Linked DNA regions of Homo sapiens: region 2 is linked to region 1. Evidence: promoter capture Hi-C in 16 types of primary human blood cells and fetal thymus (Javierre and others, 2016). All regions are on one chromosome and are shown on one strand. Each heading gives the region's core, a stretch centred on a gene start or on the middle of the fragment in contact. The rest is flanking DNA. Distances are from core to core; before and after follow the strand shown. Region 1 holds the start of GPD1 (glycerol-3-phosphate dehydrogenase 1). Region 2 holds the start of DHH (desert hedgehog signaling molecule).

Region 1 (7,844 bases), core at 3,645-6,144:
GCCTCCCAAAGTGCTGGGATTACAGGTGTGAGACACCACACCCAGCCTTGAGCAACCCACTTAACCTCTCTGAGCCTCAGTGTCACCAACTGTAAAATGGGGCCAATATAACAAAGGAATGATTGTGTATGTGAAGATGTAATTAGGTATGATGTGAAAGTGCTTAATAAATACTCATTTCCTTCTTACTGTCCTTTTGCCCAGCTGCTCCCTTTTCCAAGCTTTACCCTGACCAGTCATGAGTGGATATTCTGAACCTGTTTCATACTGTCTTCTTCTAGGAGTCTTTCTCAGACCAGCACAGCTCTGCTCTGATCAGCCCAATCACCCCCGCTGTCTTTCTGAAAACGAGCACCTTGAAGCCCATCCTTCTCCTTACACCTCAGCACCCAGAACAGGATTCAGGGAACAGATGGGTTGGCCTTGGGGAAGAGACTCAAACTAGGGGTGATGGACAGAAGTGGGATGAGCTTATTCCTGCTGCCCCAGAGCTCCAACCCCAGAGCAGAGGACAAGGAAGGAGGGGCACAAAGGGATCCAGGTAATGTAGTGTGAAGAGCACTAGACTGGAAGGAGTTCAAAGACCATGAACTAGCTGGCGGACAATGGGCATGCCAGACTCTGCAAGCTCTGGACTCTGTCTGAAATGTAAGGTAATACTCCCCTTTCTGTCCACTTCACAGATTTGTGGCAGGTTTAGGAAGATGATGAACAGGGCGAGCACTTCTGGCTGTGGCTCCCTTAATCAGTGGGGCTGTGGCCAATACTTACTTGTCTACCAGGCCCTTGTGCTGGAGGATGCTGTATAGCTCCCGGGCTGTCTCGGGCCCCTGCAGTTTCTGCCCATTCAGCAACTCTTTCTCCAGCTGCTCAATGGACTGTGCAGAAAACAGGATGAGTGGATGGAAATGGGAGAGAAGGGTTGTCAGTAGGGGGTGGAGAGACTGGAGCTCAGATGGGAGTGGGGTCTTGGGAGGAAAAGAGGGATGGGGATGTGCACAACAGTCTTAATGTTTGTGCTCCAGAGATGCCTCCCGCCAAGCACCTCTACCTGGATGCCTACAGAGCCGCCCCTCTGTTCTCCCTTCTCCCGGGGCCCACCTTTCCTGTACGCGCAAAGGCCTCAGCCACTTTCCGGTTCCGCCCTCCATAGCAGGTAGTGATCAGGTCAGCAACACCACAGCTCTCCAAGAAGGTGGCAGAGGACACAGGGCCACTGCAGAAGAGCTTGGCGAAGGCTATCATCTCCATGAGTCCCAGCCGGATCACTGCCGCCTTGGTGTTGTCGCCAAAGCCCAGGCCATCACAGAAGCCAGCCCCCACGGCCACTACATTCTTGAAGGAGTGGAGGTCATAGGTGAGAAAAGACCCCCTCCTATAGGCCCCATGTGGAGCCCCCTCATACTCATTTCATCAGCCGTGACACCCACTGCAGAAGAGAGGTATAGTGTGTGGCCTTTTAGAAGCCTACTTCCGCCTCTTGGTTTCCCCCCTTGCTGCACCCCCTTTCTTAAGCCCTGCCCCATACTCCCTCCTCGAGGACATTTTCTGAAAACCACTCTTCTCTCTAGTTGATCTTCCCATCTATGACCATTCCATTGTACAGCCCTCAAGTCAACAGCTGTCCAGGATCCATAGTTCTGGCCATTAGTCTGTCTGGGTGTCAAGGATGTTTTGTCTCCCATTAGCCTGGGCATCTCCTTGTCCCCCTGGACCACCTCCTGGAGCCAGAGGGTGGGGAGTCCCACACGGGGCTAAAATGGGACAGGAGCAAGGGGGTCCACGGTCTGATGATGAATAATCAGCCGGCCTGAATGGCCCTGGCCTTGCTTCTGCAGCTCCTCCTATATGCATGGGACATGGTAGGAAAGGGGAACCACTGCTCAATAGTGAGAGCCTGGAGTACCTGCAGCCTTGCAGAGCTCAGCCAGACCTCCTTTGGGGCCTTCTCCTCACCCCATAGCTGCCTCTGTGCCCCTCTCACCTTTAAGGCTCCACAGATCTCTACTGTGTCCACCTCTTGCACCACTGTGATACGGAAGTTTGGTGTCTGCATCAGCTCTTTCAGGAGTTGTCCCTGGGCCGGGTCCTTGCAGCCTAAAGTGAGGAGGGGGCAAGGCTTTGAGGGAAGGACTCTTTTTAAAAAATATTTATTTTATAGAGATGGGAGTCTCTCTCTGTTGCCCAGGCTGGACTCAAACTCCTGGGCTTAAGCGATCCTCCCACCTCAGCCTCTTAAGTAGCTGGGACCACAGGTGTGCCACTGCACCAACTCTGAGGGAGGGCTCATCACTGTGTTTCCCTAAGCAGGCCCTGAAGCCCCTTCCCTGGGGGTGTCCCAGCCTCCTTCACCTCTGATGCTTGTATTTTCCTTTCTCTGCCTTATGGGAAAGAGATGGCTAAGTGGGGTTGGGGCAGTTTGGGGAGGGGATGCAACTAGATGCACTGTGTATGCAGGTGCCAGGGGGCTCTCACCAATGGTTGTCTCACAGAACTTCTCATCAGCCACCTCGCTGGCAATGTTGGCCCCCATCAGCACACTCATGGGGATGCCGAGGCGCTCCCCAATCACTTCCGAGATGAGCTTCAGCCCATTGGGGCCCTCGTCTACCCCCTGAGCACAGGATGGAGCTCAGGCCAGGTGCCCTTTGGGCCCACCTGCGGGCTTCCGCCCAGAAATTCTGTCCCTTCCAAATCCATTGCTCATCTGTGTCCCTCCCGACAGGTCCTGCCCCATTCCAACCCAGCTCAAGTTTGCTGTGAGGAGGCCAGACAGCATGTGACCAACTGTCCTGCCACATACCCTCAACCAGTCTACTTCTCCAAGGCAACGGGTCCCCTCCACATCCCTAGGCAACCCCGCCTGACTGCCCCAACAAACTGCCATTCAGTGACCAGTCACTGCTCCAAACCAGCTACTCTTCACACTTCTCAAACCAGCCCGCTTCTCATATCTCCCAGGCATTCCTTTATACCTCCGAAACTCCCCGAGAGGACCTCCAAACCAATCTCGTCTCCTCCCTTCAGCCTCCCTTCCAGTGACCCCCAGCACCTCACTGCTTTCCTAAGCCTCTCCAGAGCCAACTGCCTCTCTTTTCTCCAGCAAACTCTTGGCCTGCGTCTGCCATTTTCTGTTCTCCTTGCTTCACCCACCCTGAACCCCACAACAGTGAGCCGCACCCTCCCCCATCCACATGAAGGTGTCCCTGGCACCTTAATAAGAGATATGCCAGTGGCGTTTGCCTTCAGATGGCCCTTGAGCTGGTCACAGATCTTGCCGATGAACTGATGGGGCACCACAAAGATCAGGATGTCAGCATCCTCTGCAGCCTGGACCACATCTGGGACAGCCACCTGTGGGGGTGACCAAGTGCTCGCGGGCCTGGCAGACCTCCCCTAGCCCCTGTGGAACCCTATTCAGGAGATCTGGGAGCCAAAGAGTGAGGCTGGTAGGGGAGCAGGAAGGCTTGTTTGGGACTGAATCTAGAAGGACTGAACTTGGAGGAATAAGACACTCTACTCCCTCCCCCCAGCTACCACTCTGTCTCCCTCCAGCTGTCCTGGGCTCTTGAGGACTCCTGGAAACCTCATCCCAGCACTCTCCTATCCCTTGGCTGTGGGACAGTGCGGGAGGCCAAAAGCAGCCTGGGCTTGGCAAAAGAAAGAGCTCAAATAAGATTTCATCACCCAGCTCCTCAGGAACCCCAGCTGGGAAGGGGGAGCCCCAGCCTTTCTGCTCTCTTCCCTGCTTCCCCTTTCCAGGTGGGGAGAGCCACGTGGATTTGACCAAAGACCGTAAGTCCAAGGAGCAGCCTCCAAGTCGGCTACTCACTCAGTGAATGAGTAACAGGATTAGTGCCGGAGGCAGGCACTACTGGACCCCAAGTCTGGGAGCCCAGTCTTTGGCTGCCATGGAGACCAACTTGTTCTCCCATCCCTTCCCCACCCACCCGCCTGGGAGCCTGTGAGGGGAAAGCATAGGTTCTCCTCAGTCCTCAGGAAAGGGCCCAGAGCAGCCCTCCTGAGACCTTCCCAAGTCCTGCTGCACCTGAAGCGGCCCTCTCAGCAGGAGGCACCTGTTGAGTAAGGTCGGCTCCAACTCCTGGCCCTCCCTTCCTCTCCCTGTTCTTCGCAGGGTGTTGGGGCTCACCACATTTGGGGGCAACTTGTGCCCTGGCAGGTATTTGACATTCTCATGCTGCGTGTTGATGATCTCAGTCAGCTTTTTGCCTCCAATGTCTTCCTCAAATACCCACATGGTCACCCGTGGGTCAAACTGTGCCAGCTGGGCTGCATTGCCACCCACGATCTTGGCGATGGCTGAGCCCCTGGTGGGAGGGGGAGCACAGGAAAGTACAGGAGGAGGGAACAGTGGCAGGAGTTGGGGCAGCGCCCCACCTCAGGATCTCACAGCAGCCCCCCAGGCTGTTCACTCCTACCTACCTTCCTTATCACCTCCACTCCCATGACAAATAGTCCCCAGTGACCTGGCAGTAGAAAGGAGACTCAGTCTCCTCACCCTTTGCTACTAGAGAAGGGAGCCCCACTTCTCATCTTCCCACCCCCAAACTCAAGCGGCTCTTCACATAGAGAGCTCTGGAGACGCCTTCCCATGGTGAACAGGTGCAGCTGCCCAGGAGGGCGGGGGTCAGGAGAGGGCCGGGCACCGTCTGTCCTGTGCTGCTATGATAGAAGATAGCAGCAGGGGCTGAACAGGAACCTGAGGGCCTTTCCCACCCATTCTGCCTCCTACCCACCTCTGTCTTGGGGGGCCTACCCTTCCCCCATATCACTTGACAGAGCTGCTTACCAGTTCCCGGAGCCTACAATGCAGACTTTCTTGCTAGCCATGGTGCCGCGTCTCTGCCTGAGCCGGCTCAGTGCCACACTCCCTAGCTCCTCTGCCGGCTAGGAGCATTTAACTCCACCACACGTGGGTGCAGCCAAGCCCCGCCCTCCAGGGGTGGGTGGGGAGGCTGGCGCCCAGGGAGATAGAGAGTCTGGCAGAGCCAGGGAAAGGAGAGACAGGGGTACAGACAGGTGTGGAACAGGAATGGGGCAGAGACTAGGCCCAGCTTTTTCTCCTGGGCTCATCGGCTGACAGTGCTGGCAAGCTTCTTCCCTTGGCCCCAGCCCAGCTTCCCACCATGGTCTCATTTTGAGGTCTGCTAAGAAAATAGCCCAGATAAGGAGCAGGTGACTGCTCTCCCTTGCTCCTTTCTGTCCCCCAGCATGAAATAAATTGTATTTAGCTTCAGTAGCAGCTAGGGGAATGCTTTTCAGAGGTAGGCTCCTCCATGACCCCCTATCCCCCCGCCAACCCTGCCACATATCCTCACAGGACCCTGTTCCACAGTTCTGTCCTCCAGCAGGCCCACGCTAGCTCCACTGCAGGGCTGGGGTGGGGGATGTGGGCCCACTTCCCACCTCTAAAGATGAGGCCACATAAGAGGTAAGGGCCTGCTTTGAGGACAGCCCAGCTCAAAAAAGGATGAGAGACTCCAGGTGCCTCAAAAGACAAGATTGTCTTGGTCACCCACAGAGGTCATCTTGGGGACTCATCCATGGGCCTCTCAGATGATCCCCACCCAAAAATGTGTTCTAGGGAAGGTGGGAAAGGTTAAAGTTAGAGAGCTCTGAGAATTGCGGTACACAATTTTGTTGTAGACTCTGGGCTTAAGAGGACAGGAGAGAATAGGAGGCAGGCAGAGTGCACACTGTCCTTGAAAGGCTTTGAGCCTCCTTCAACTCCTCCTCTCAGGGGTTTCCAAGGTACTGCCCCAGGGGCTTCATCAGGTGAATGGCTAGTTTGCAGAGGCCAGAAAAGGGGAAGGCAGGCAGTACCCGGGGCAGCTGTGTCCGTGGGGCTTTGTGGTCTCAGATGCTGTGATTGGGGGTAAGTTTGGTGTATGTTTTTTGGGGAAGGGCGAGAATGGAAGGAGCACCCTCAGCAGTTCAGGGCTCTGCATCGCCCACGGCCATCTGTTTGTCTAAGACGAGGGAAGCTCTGGTTTCCAGGCTGATCTGGAGAGTGGAGCAAGAGGCTCCTAACACTGTGCACCTTGGCCTAGAGGGCAGACACCACTGTGTGCTCATGTGCTGACCTCCTGGCTTGGCAGACGGCTAGGTGGGTGTTGCCATCCCCCTGGGCTGTTGCTGGCCAGCAACTGGTAACAAGCACTGGGCTACAGGGGAGTCTGTGTGCAACCCATGGGTAGGAGTAAGCAGGCAGGAGGTCAAGACTGGGGAGAAATGGCTTTCTAAGTTCCGGGGACTGCCCAGGAAAAACCAACCATATTCTCCTTCCATGGCCAGTAATTTCCCATAGGGAAACGGACATGAAATCAGTAGTTGGCTGTTTTTCTTAGCACAATGTTATACCTAATACAGAAACAGCCTCCCACAGACCACTCCTTTATTGCACTGGCACTGAGATGAAGGCTCCAGTGCCAGGCTGCCAGCTGGGAGCACTGATTACGGGTGATGGAAGAGAAAGGATGCTTCTGTCCCTGGCACAAATGATGGGAGCCCCAAAGAATGGATGTTTATGCATAAAATAACCCCCTTGTTTTTGCCTAAATGCTTCCCTCTCTCATTTTGCCCCTACAATCATTTTAGATAGTGTGGAGACTAAGAATGTGCTCATTTACATGGGAATAAAGAGGGTGCAGAGATTCAGAATCGGCTCATCACAGGAAGTTATCTGTATCACTAGAGCTCTTTTCCCAAGAGCAAACTGTAGATTTGCTTGAAATTAATAATGGTTCATCAGCCATTCATTACACATGTAATTAGCCTGGGTAAAAACAGATGCCATTTCAATGTCCTTGACATCAATTTTCTCCACTCCTAGTTATCGGCCCAACCACTCCTCTCTGCTTTCCCTTCTCAAGTCTGATAAACCCCAAGTTCCGGAGTAGGAACAGTGGTTGGATTTTTTGGTGGGTTTGATTACATATATTGAACAGGCAATACTAGAATGTTCCCATCCAAACAGGCAAAGGATAATTTTTAAACTACAACTTTGGAAAGTGGTTGTACTCTGATCCTATATTCCAAACCCCATTCTTGCATAATGACAAAGGAAAAAAGTCATGAGCCTCCAAGTGGGAAGCAGGCAGAACTGCAGGCGAGTTTCAAGTGATTGCTAATGGGAATCCCTCCTGAGCTGTCTTCCAAACTCTGCCAAGGAGGGGCTAGTTGTCTACAGTATGAGGATGACAACACAGAACTTCCATGGTGCTCTTAAGAACCAGCTACTCAGGAGGCTGAGGCAGGAAAATCACTTGAACCTGGGAGGCGGAGGTTGCAGTAAGCCGAGAACGCGCCATTGCACTCCAGCCTGGGGAACAAGAACACAACTCCATCTCAAAACAGGCAAACAAAAACTGAACTCTTATTTGAACCATGAAAGCGGAACCTTAGAGTAGCAGGCACAGGCTGGGCACGGTGGTTCACACCTGTAATCCCAGCACTTTGGGAGACCGAGGCGGGCGGATCACGAGGTCAGGAGATCGAGACCATCCTGGCTAACACGGTGAAACCCTGTCTCTACTAAAAAATACAAAAAATTAGCCGGGCATGGTGGCAGGCGCCTGTAGTCCCAGCTACTCGGGAGGCTGAGGCAGGAGAATGGCGTGAACCCAGGAGGCAGAGCTTGCAGTGAGCCAAGATCGCGCTACTGCACTCCAGCCTGGGCAACAGTGAGACTCCGTCTAAAAAAAAAAAAAAAAAAAGAGTAGCAGGCACAAAAAGCAAAAATGTCTTTGGTCGTCCAGATCCTGCCCACATCTAAACAGAAGCCCTGGGGAAGAAGTGAAACTCCTCCAAAGGCGGCTCAGGTT
Region 2 (7,844 bases), core at 1,396-3,895, 1.0 Mb after region 1:
GACTGGGTCTAGCCCCTGATCCCAAATCTGTTTACACATCAATCTGCCTCACTGCTGTTCTGGGCCATCCCCATAGCCATGTTTACATGATTTGATGTGCAATAGGGTGGGGTAGGGGCAGGGAAAGGACTGGGCCAGGGCAGGCTCGGGAGATAGATTGTCTCCCTTGCCTCTGGCCCAGCAGAGCCTAAGCACTGTGCTATCCTGGAGGGGCTTTGGACCACCTGAAAGACCAAGGGGATAGGGAGGAGGAGGCTTCAGCCATCAGCAATAAAGTTGATCCCAGGGTTTGCTTTGTTTTTTTAAAGCACCTGTCTCTGTGTATATTTGAACAGCCTTGCTCCCACCAGCCCGGCGTCTGCCCAGTAAGAGAAGCAGAGGGGTCCTGCCCACCATCCTTTTCCTTCCCCTTCATCTATATTATTACCATCCTTTGGGGACTTGGATCTGGTGTTAGGCCATGCAGTTGGGCAGTGGGAAACTCCTCCATCCTCAGTCTTGCTTAAAGCTGGCTTGTCCCCTGACTCCTCCTTATATTCATGGCCTTGTTTCTGTACCTTGAGTATTGGGGGTAGGACATGGGCATAGGAGTAGGCTAACCTCCCCGATACACTCATACCTTCAGCCCTATCCTCCCTGGCTTAACTATTGGATATAGAGTAAAATAAGTGGCTGGCTGACAAGGATTTTCATTTCCTACCTGAGAGAAGAATCTAGCTTTTTACTAGAGGCCATCAGTTTCTTGAAAAGCCCATGTGCTATGTTGGGAGTAAGAGCGCAAAACTTAGGCTTATACAGATTGTGTATTGCACAGCTTCCAGGGACACCATTCACCTCATAGTCATTGTGTGGATAGTTACTATGATAGTTTTCTAATAAATGTCAGTCATCTTGAGGAAGGGGTGCTTTTTTTTTCTTTTTTCTTCTTCTTTTTTTTTTTTTTTTTTTTGTGAGACAAGGTCTGGCTCTATCACCCTGGCTGGAGTGCAGTGGTGCAATCTCAGCTCACTGCAACCTCCGCATTCTGGGCTCAAGCCATTCTTCCAGCTCAGGCTCCAGAATAGCTAGGACAACAGACACATGCTACCATGCCTGGCTAATTTTTGTATTTTTAGTAGAGATGGGGTTTTGCCATGTTGCCTGGGCTGGTCTTGAACTCCTGAGCTCAAGTGATCCACCTACCTTGGACTCCCCAAATGATGGAATTACAGGGGTTAGCCACAACACCCAGCCATCTTTTTTTTGGGGGGGGGGGTCCTCACTCTGTCACCCAGGTTAGAGTGCAGTGGCATGATCTTAGCTCACTCTACAGCCTTGAACTCTTGCACCCAAGTGATCCTCCTTCCTCAGCCTCCTGAGTACCTAAGACTACAGGCATGTACCACTACCTCCCACTAATTAATTTTTTTTTTTTGAAACGGGGTGTCACTATGTTGACCAAGTTGGTCTTCAACTCATGGCCTCAAGCAGTCCTTGCCTCGCCCCCAAAGTGTTGGGATTACAGGAGTGAGCCACTGTGCCTGGCCTGGTTTTTTCTGATGTACACAAAGTTGCTATGAGTACTAGCCATAGAGTGTGGTGAGGGGAGGGTGAATATGAAACACAAAGTGTAGATTCCACAAATGCTTGCAAAGCACCCTTCTGTAGAGTAGGCACTTAACCTTGGAGATACATGATAAATATGTGTGTGCTTAAGATTGCTTTGTCTAGTAAGGTGCCAGATAATTCTAATACTGTTCTAACACTGCAGTTAAGTAATGGTTCTCGAGGGAACACAGGTGGGCAGTGTTGGGACATCAAGGAAGGCTTCTTAGAAGAAATGACTTCTAAACAAAAGAAATTGGACGTGGTGCCTCTGAGATGAGATCTGAGTGGCTGAAAATGGAGCCCCGGGAGTCCAGAGAGGGAGAAAGCTGGAGAGGTGCCTAGATGGACGGTTAAGGGAAGTGATCCTCACCTCTTACAAAGACTTTTGAGTGTCCACTGCCCTTCAGCAGCTTCCAACTGAGAAGTCATTCATTTGAAAAACAGCAGCTATTAGATGCCTGGCAAAGAAGAGAAGGGGAAAAAAGTTGGAAGTCCTAAATGAGACAATAAGTACCAAGCTCTGTTCCTGGTTCTGGGGAAGTTCCAAAGGAGACTGCAAAGTTAGTAGAGAAATGGGCCCCTGGTATCCTCACCTCCCAGTCCTGCTTAATGCTGAATGTGAGGAGAGATGGAAGTCGGGGAGATCTGGGGAGGACTACAGAGAAGGGAGGCTCTGGTTGTATGCCCAAAGGGCTTGGCTGGTCTTGGGCAGAAATTGGAACCCATACTTCCTGGATGACAGCGGAGGGCATGGCCTGCCAGGGTAGGCTTTGAGAGAGTAAAAATTCCAATTCAAGTATCAGAGGAGGGTGGTTTGGTTCCAAGTTTAAGCTTGGAGGTAGAAGGATGTTTAGGCAGCCAAGGACTGTAAAGCTACAAGTATTTCCTAGGCAGGTGTCTGCCTGGTTTCCAGGATGGGACACACTTCAGTCGCAAAATGGACCAGCAGTGACCGGCTAGATCCCCCGCCCGGGTGGGAGGGGGTGGGACGGTCTTGGGAGAAGGGCGGAGGGCGGGGCCAGGGGCCACTTAAGGCGGAGTCCGGAGTCCGGGCGTTCTGGCAGCACCAGAGTCCTGCAGCAGAGACGGGCTGGGCTGGCACTCACCCACGACCCCCCTTCCCTGCTATGATGGTTTGTCAGTAGCAGGTCCTAGACACCCCCCGCCCGCTCCCGGGGCACGTGGGCAGAGCTAGCAGCAGCCAGGTGCACGGAGCCACAAGAGCTCTAGGGCACTCTGGGGGCAGCTGTGCCTGCTGCCCTCTCTGGTGCCTGTGGAGATGCCTAACTGACAGGAGAGTTAGTGAGGACAAGAACGCTCCCTTTTGGCCGAGGTCCGCTGTATCCATGGCTCTCCTGACCAATCTACTGCCCCTGTGCTGCTTGGCACTTCTGGCGCTGCCAGCCCAGAGCTGCGGGCCGGGCCGGGGGCCGGTTGGCCGGCGCCGCTATGCGCGCAAGCAGCTCGTGCCGCTACTCTACAAGCAATTTGTGCCCGGCGTGCCAGAGCGGACCCTGGGCGCCAGTGGGCCAGCGGAGGGGAGGGTGGCAAGGGGCTCCGAGCGCTTCCGGGACCTCGTGCCCAACTACAACCCCGACATCATCTTCAAGGATGAGGAGAACAGTGGAGCCGACCGCCTGATGACCGAGGTAAGGAGGGCCTCTCCCTACCTGCGCCGGGGCACTGCCAGCTCCTCCGTTTTCCTATGGCAGCCCAGGTGGGTGAGTCCAGCTTCACCTACAGAGAGTTTAGCCTTAGAGATTTCCCTTGTCACCAGCCCCAGGGGGGGGAAAAATCCTTGCAGTCTGGACAGAGTAATTAGGACGGCTCCCGACTAGAATAGTCTGGGATGGGGAGGGGAGGAGGGACTGACTAGTGAGAGTGAAGCTGGTAGAGGCAGCGAGGGCGGGGAAAGGAGGATGGCGGCAGGCGAGACGGGAAATGGCTGAGGCGTGGACCGGGGGTCAGCCACCCAGCCAGGCAGGAAGGGCTGGGGTGAGCTGGGGGCCAGGAGCTGGCTAGGTAGCAGACAGAAGCCTGGCTCCTGACCTGATTGTAGAAAAGCTCTGTGGGCCGAAAAGAAGAGACTGAAAAGGGCTGGGACAGGGGTGGCCAAGGGTCAGGTCACCAGACCATCTACCTGAGGAGGGGCTGGGCAGACATTGCTTTTGGCATGGGAAACGTGTCCTAGAACCAGGACACATCTATTCTAGGGTCTATTCTAGGGCTATCCTAGGGTCTAAACGATAATCTTGGGGTTAAAAAGTAATCCTCAGTGAGAATAACAGATGGACCCACCTGAGAATCAGAGGGCTCCTAAGTCTTCCAAGCTCTGCCTATCTCAGGGGCTTTCCTTGGAATTACATAATTAGGATAAATTCAACTACCATTTTTGAGCATTGGAACCACCTAGAGTGAGGTGGAAGAGAAGGACCACCTCTGGCGAGTGATTTATTTTTTATTTTTTGTAGAGACGGGGTCTTGCCATGTTGCCTAGGCTAGTCTTGAACTCCTGAGCTCAAGGGATCCTCCCACCTCGGCCTCCCAAAGTGCTGGATTACAGGTGTGAGCCACTTCATCCAGCCTGGCCAGTGATCTTGAATGTTAGAACTGAAAGAAAACTTGAGAGATGACATTCCTCCAACCCTCCCCACCCCCACTGCCACCCTCATTTTACATCTGAGAGCTGGACTTCCCCCAGGAGGAAAAGCAATTTAAACTCTCACAATTTAAAGTGGCATGGCTGGGACTAGAATTCAGGACTCCTGATTCTAAGCCCTATATACTTTCCATTACACCACCTAATTGTGTATGGAGTGGGGAGGTGGGGGGAGAGGGAGGGGTACGGATTTCCTCTGATTAATTGCCATAGTTTTCCAGGTTACTTTGTTAGGAAAACCTGTCCAGGGAAGAAATAATTCCTTTTGCTTCTGCCCTGAAGCCTTCCTCCTACCTAGAGATGGGAAAAGGGGCATTCCTTCTTTCCTCCTTGGCCGTGGAACATTGTGGCCCTTTCCTCTGGTTGCCACCTGCAGCAGAGTGGGCAGAACAAGGGACAGGCTCAGGAGGGGCTCCGGCAGGCCTGGGAGCCCCCTCAGTCTTACTTATCTCCCACACCCTGGCTGCAAAAGGCCTCCATTGAGTTGGCTCTGCACTGGGCTGCTGCCCCCGCAGGTCAGGGCCTCGGGGCCTCCTTAGGGGACGAAACGACAAAGTTGGAAGGAGCTACCACTTTTCCTGTTTTCCCCCCACCCAACCCCAACTCTGCGGGGTGGAGGAGACTAGAGGAGAGGGGAAAAGTGTCTTTCTGTTAGGAGAAAACCAAGTCCGAGGTGAGAGGTCGGAGGGGAAAGAAAAAAAGGAAGCTGTCCCTCTGCGCCTCCTCCCGCGGTGTCCCTGCTATGGTGCGCGCCAAGGTCTCCCGCTCCCAGGCTGGAGCGGCCAAGATAACTGTGGTCTCACTCCCCCAGGTGCAGGCTTCCAGCCGCAGCTTCTTTTCCTCTTCTCCGCTCTCACCCTGCAGGGGGCTCCCCAGATCCGCACAAGGAGACCGTTATTCTCAGGTGCTACTCCCACGCCCTTCTGGGCTGCATCTAGAGCAGAGATGGGAGAGATAGGGGCTCTCCGGACTGGCAGAGCCTTAGCTGGAACTGGGAAGACTGGACGCGCGGGGGGAGGGGACCTACCCGGACGGAGCAGGGATTGGGGGCGCGGCTTTCTGCCCTTTCCTCTCCCTGAGCCGGGGCGGCTGAAAAGCGCCTTTGTGGCCGGAGCTGCTGAGTCCGCTTCTCCCAGCGCGTTCCCGGCCTGGGCTCAGGATTCTCGCTCGGTTAAGTCATCCCGGATAATGGCCATTGTACTTCGCGCAACCCCCGCCACCCCAATCCTTTTTCCAGCAGCCTTGATCCCGCACAGCTCCTCTTGGGCACCTCTCTGGGGGGCACCCAGAGCACGAAGGGGTTAATGCTAAGGGCCCAAAGGAGGAGGAGGAAGGAAGGAAGGAAGCGATGCCCGGTGCCAGGGAAGGCAATGAAACAAAAGATGAATCAGGCGGAGGGAGGGGAGCCGGTGCCTGGGGCGGGGGCCAGGCTCAAACAGGGGCTCTCCGGGAGCAACCAGGCCCTCCCTGACCACGCTTCCATTCGCCCTCCTAACTCTGTCCTTCTCCCAGGTTGAGCCGCTGTCCCTGAACCAATAGGGGTGAGGGACGGGCATTAAAAATGGGGAAGGAGCTAGGTATGGGCACCCCCTCTCAACCTCAGAGGTGAGCCCACAGTTCTCCAACGACGTCCTGGGAACAGAGTGCAGATTGGTGACTACCATCGACTCAGATTCTCATTTCTCCAGGACACTCAAAAGCTGGGAGGGGTAAGAGTAGGGCCGGAATAACAAAGAATCAACCCTCCTATCCAGGTCCCTTTTGCCCCAAGGGTGGTGGTGGGGAGACTGACTCCTTTATTCCCCGCCAGCGTTGTAAGGAGCGGGTGAACGCTTTGGCCATTGCCGTGATGAACATGTGGCCCGGAGTGCGCCTACGAGTGACTGAGGGCTGGGACGAGGACGGCCACCACGCTCAGGATTCACTCCACTACGAAGGCCGTGCTTTGGACATCACTACGTCTGACCGCGACCGCAACAAGTATGGGTTGCTGGCGCGCCTCGCAGTGGAAGCCGGCTTCGACTGGGTCTACTACGAGTCCCGCAACCACGTCCACGTGTCGGTCAAAGCTGGTACAGTAGGAGGAGGGTGGTAAAATCCGCCCAAAGGGGGCTCCCTCCGGGAAACTGAGTCTGCAGTAGTACTGTTGCCACCCTAGGGGAGACCAAGCGGGCTTTAGTGTTGAAAACCACCCGTCCAGGCCGAGGCGGTGCCTCACGCCTCTAATCCCAGCACTTTGGGAGGCCAAGGAGGGCGGATCACTTGAGGTCAGGAGTTCGAGATCAGCCTAGCCAACATGGTGAAATCCCGTCTCTATTATAAATACGAAAATTAGTTGGGCGTGGTGGTGTATGCCTGTAATCCCGGCTACTCGTGAGGCTGAGGCACGAGAATCACTTGAACCCGGGAGGTAGAAGTTGCAGTGAGCCGAGATGGTGCCACTGCACTCCATCTACTGGGCGACAGAGCGAGATTCTATCTCAAAATACATACATACATACATACATACATACATACATACATACATACATAGAAAAGAGAAGAAAAAGGAAAAGAAAAGAAAGAAAAACCGCCCTTCCTTTTCTGCCCAGGTTGGGGCCAGTCAGATTAACGGAAAATTGTGTTGTCCATGACTGGCGATATCTGCGCTGGCCTTGAGAATCGTTCTGGAACCGCTGGTCTTGATTCAATCCTCCCTGTGGTTGTTCCCTGCAGATAACTCACTGGCGGTCCGGGCGGGCGGCTGCTTTCCGGGAAATGCAACTGTGCGCCTGTGGAGCGGCGAGCGGAAAGGGCTGCGGGAACTGCACCGCGGAGACTGGGTTTTGGCGGCCGATGCGTCAGGCCGGGTGGTGCCCACGCCGGTGCTGCTCTTCCTGGACCGGGACTTGCAGCGCCGGGCTTCATTTGTGGCTGTGGAGACCGAGTGGCCTCCACGCAAACTGTTGCTCACGCCCTGGCACCTGGTGTTTGCCGCTCGAGGGCCGGCGCCCGCGCCAGGCGACTTTGCACCGGTGTTCGCGCGCCGGCTACGCGCTGGGGACTCGGTGCTGGCGCCCGGCGGGGATGCGCTTCGGCCAGCGCGCGTGGCCCGTGTGGCGCGGGAGGAAGCCGTGGGCGTGTTCGCGCCGCTCACCGCGCACGGGACGCTGCTGGTGAACGATGTCCTGGCCTCTTGCTACGCGGTTCTGGAGAGTCACCAGTGGGCGCACCGCGCTTTTGCCCCCTTGAGACTGCTGCACGCGCTAGGGGCGCTGCTCCCCGGCGGGGCCGTCCAGCCGACTGGCATGCATTGGTACTCTCGGCTCCTCTACCGCTTAGCGGAGGAGCTACTGGGCTGAGCGTCCCAGGCATAGAAACCTCGAAGCGCCCGAGGAAACGAGGGCCTGCTGGCTGAGATATGGGGCTGTGGGCAGCAGACGATGCCGACTGGAAGGGAGGGAGAGGGAGGGGGAGGGAGAAAATGGGGCTATGCCTGGCTTAGGGGCAACCTCGTACTGAGAGGAGGTGATACCGGGTCCTAGGTAGGTAGGGCTGATGGTGCGCACTCCTTAAAGAGGACTATTTAGCCTCTCCCCCAGTGCTTCAGCCCCACCCG

The links. The method cuts DNA at HindIII sites, captures the fragments that hold promoters and counts their contacts. A CHiCAGO score of 5 or more calls a contact.
Region 2: a contact is called between the fragment with the promoter of DHH here and the fragment with the promoter of GPD1 in region 1, in 1 of 17 cell types (total CD4 T cells). The highest score is 5.8, in total CD4 T cells.

Annotation. Positions count from the first base shown.
Region 1 is chr12:50,101,058-50,108,901 of GRCh38, reverse strand. It overlaps GPD1 (glycerol-3-phosphate dehydrogenase 1), which reads right to left and starts at 4,894. Exons shown (of 8, transcript NM_005276.4): 1 at 4,811-4,894; 2 at 4,151-4,328; 3 at 3,214-3,354; 4 at 2,476-2,614; 5 at 1,985-2,097; 6 at 1,102-1,335; 7 at 772-878. The coding sequence starts at 4,851. RefSeq lists an enhancer at 5,835-5,884. The HindIII fragment of the contact is 4,893 bases long and covers 224-5,116 here.
Region 2 is chr12:49,089,602-49,097,445 of GRCh38, reverse strand. It overlaps DHH (desert hedgehog signaling molecule), which reads left to right and starts at 2,645. Exons shown (of 3, transcript NM_021044.4): 1 at 2,645-3,236; 2 at 6,057-6,318; 3 at 6,962-7,844. The coding sequence starts at 2,934. The coding sequence ends at 7,587. DHH-AS1 (DHH antisense RNA 1) reads right to left here and starts at 5,352. Exons shown (of 4, transcript XR_007063295.1): 1 at 5,104-5,352; 2 at 4,541-4,616; 3 at 3,258-3,324; 4 at 1,702-2,045. It overlaps LMBR1L (limb development membrane protein 1 like), which reads left to right. Exons shown (of 17, transcript NM_018113.4): 17 at 1-307. RefSeq lists a cis regulatory region at 4,691-4,708, an enhancer at 4,628-4,772 and a silencer at 5,631-5,813. The HindIII fragment of the contact is 10,631 bases long and covers 2,421-7,844 here.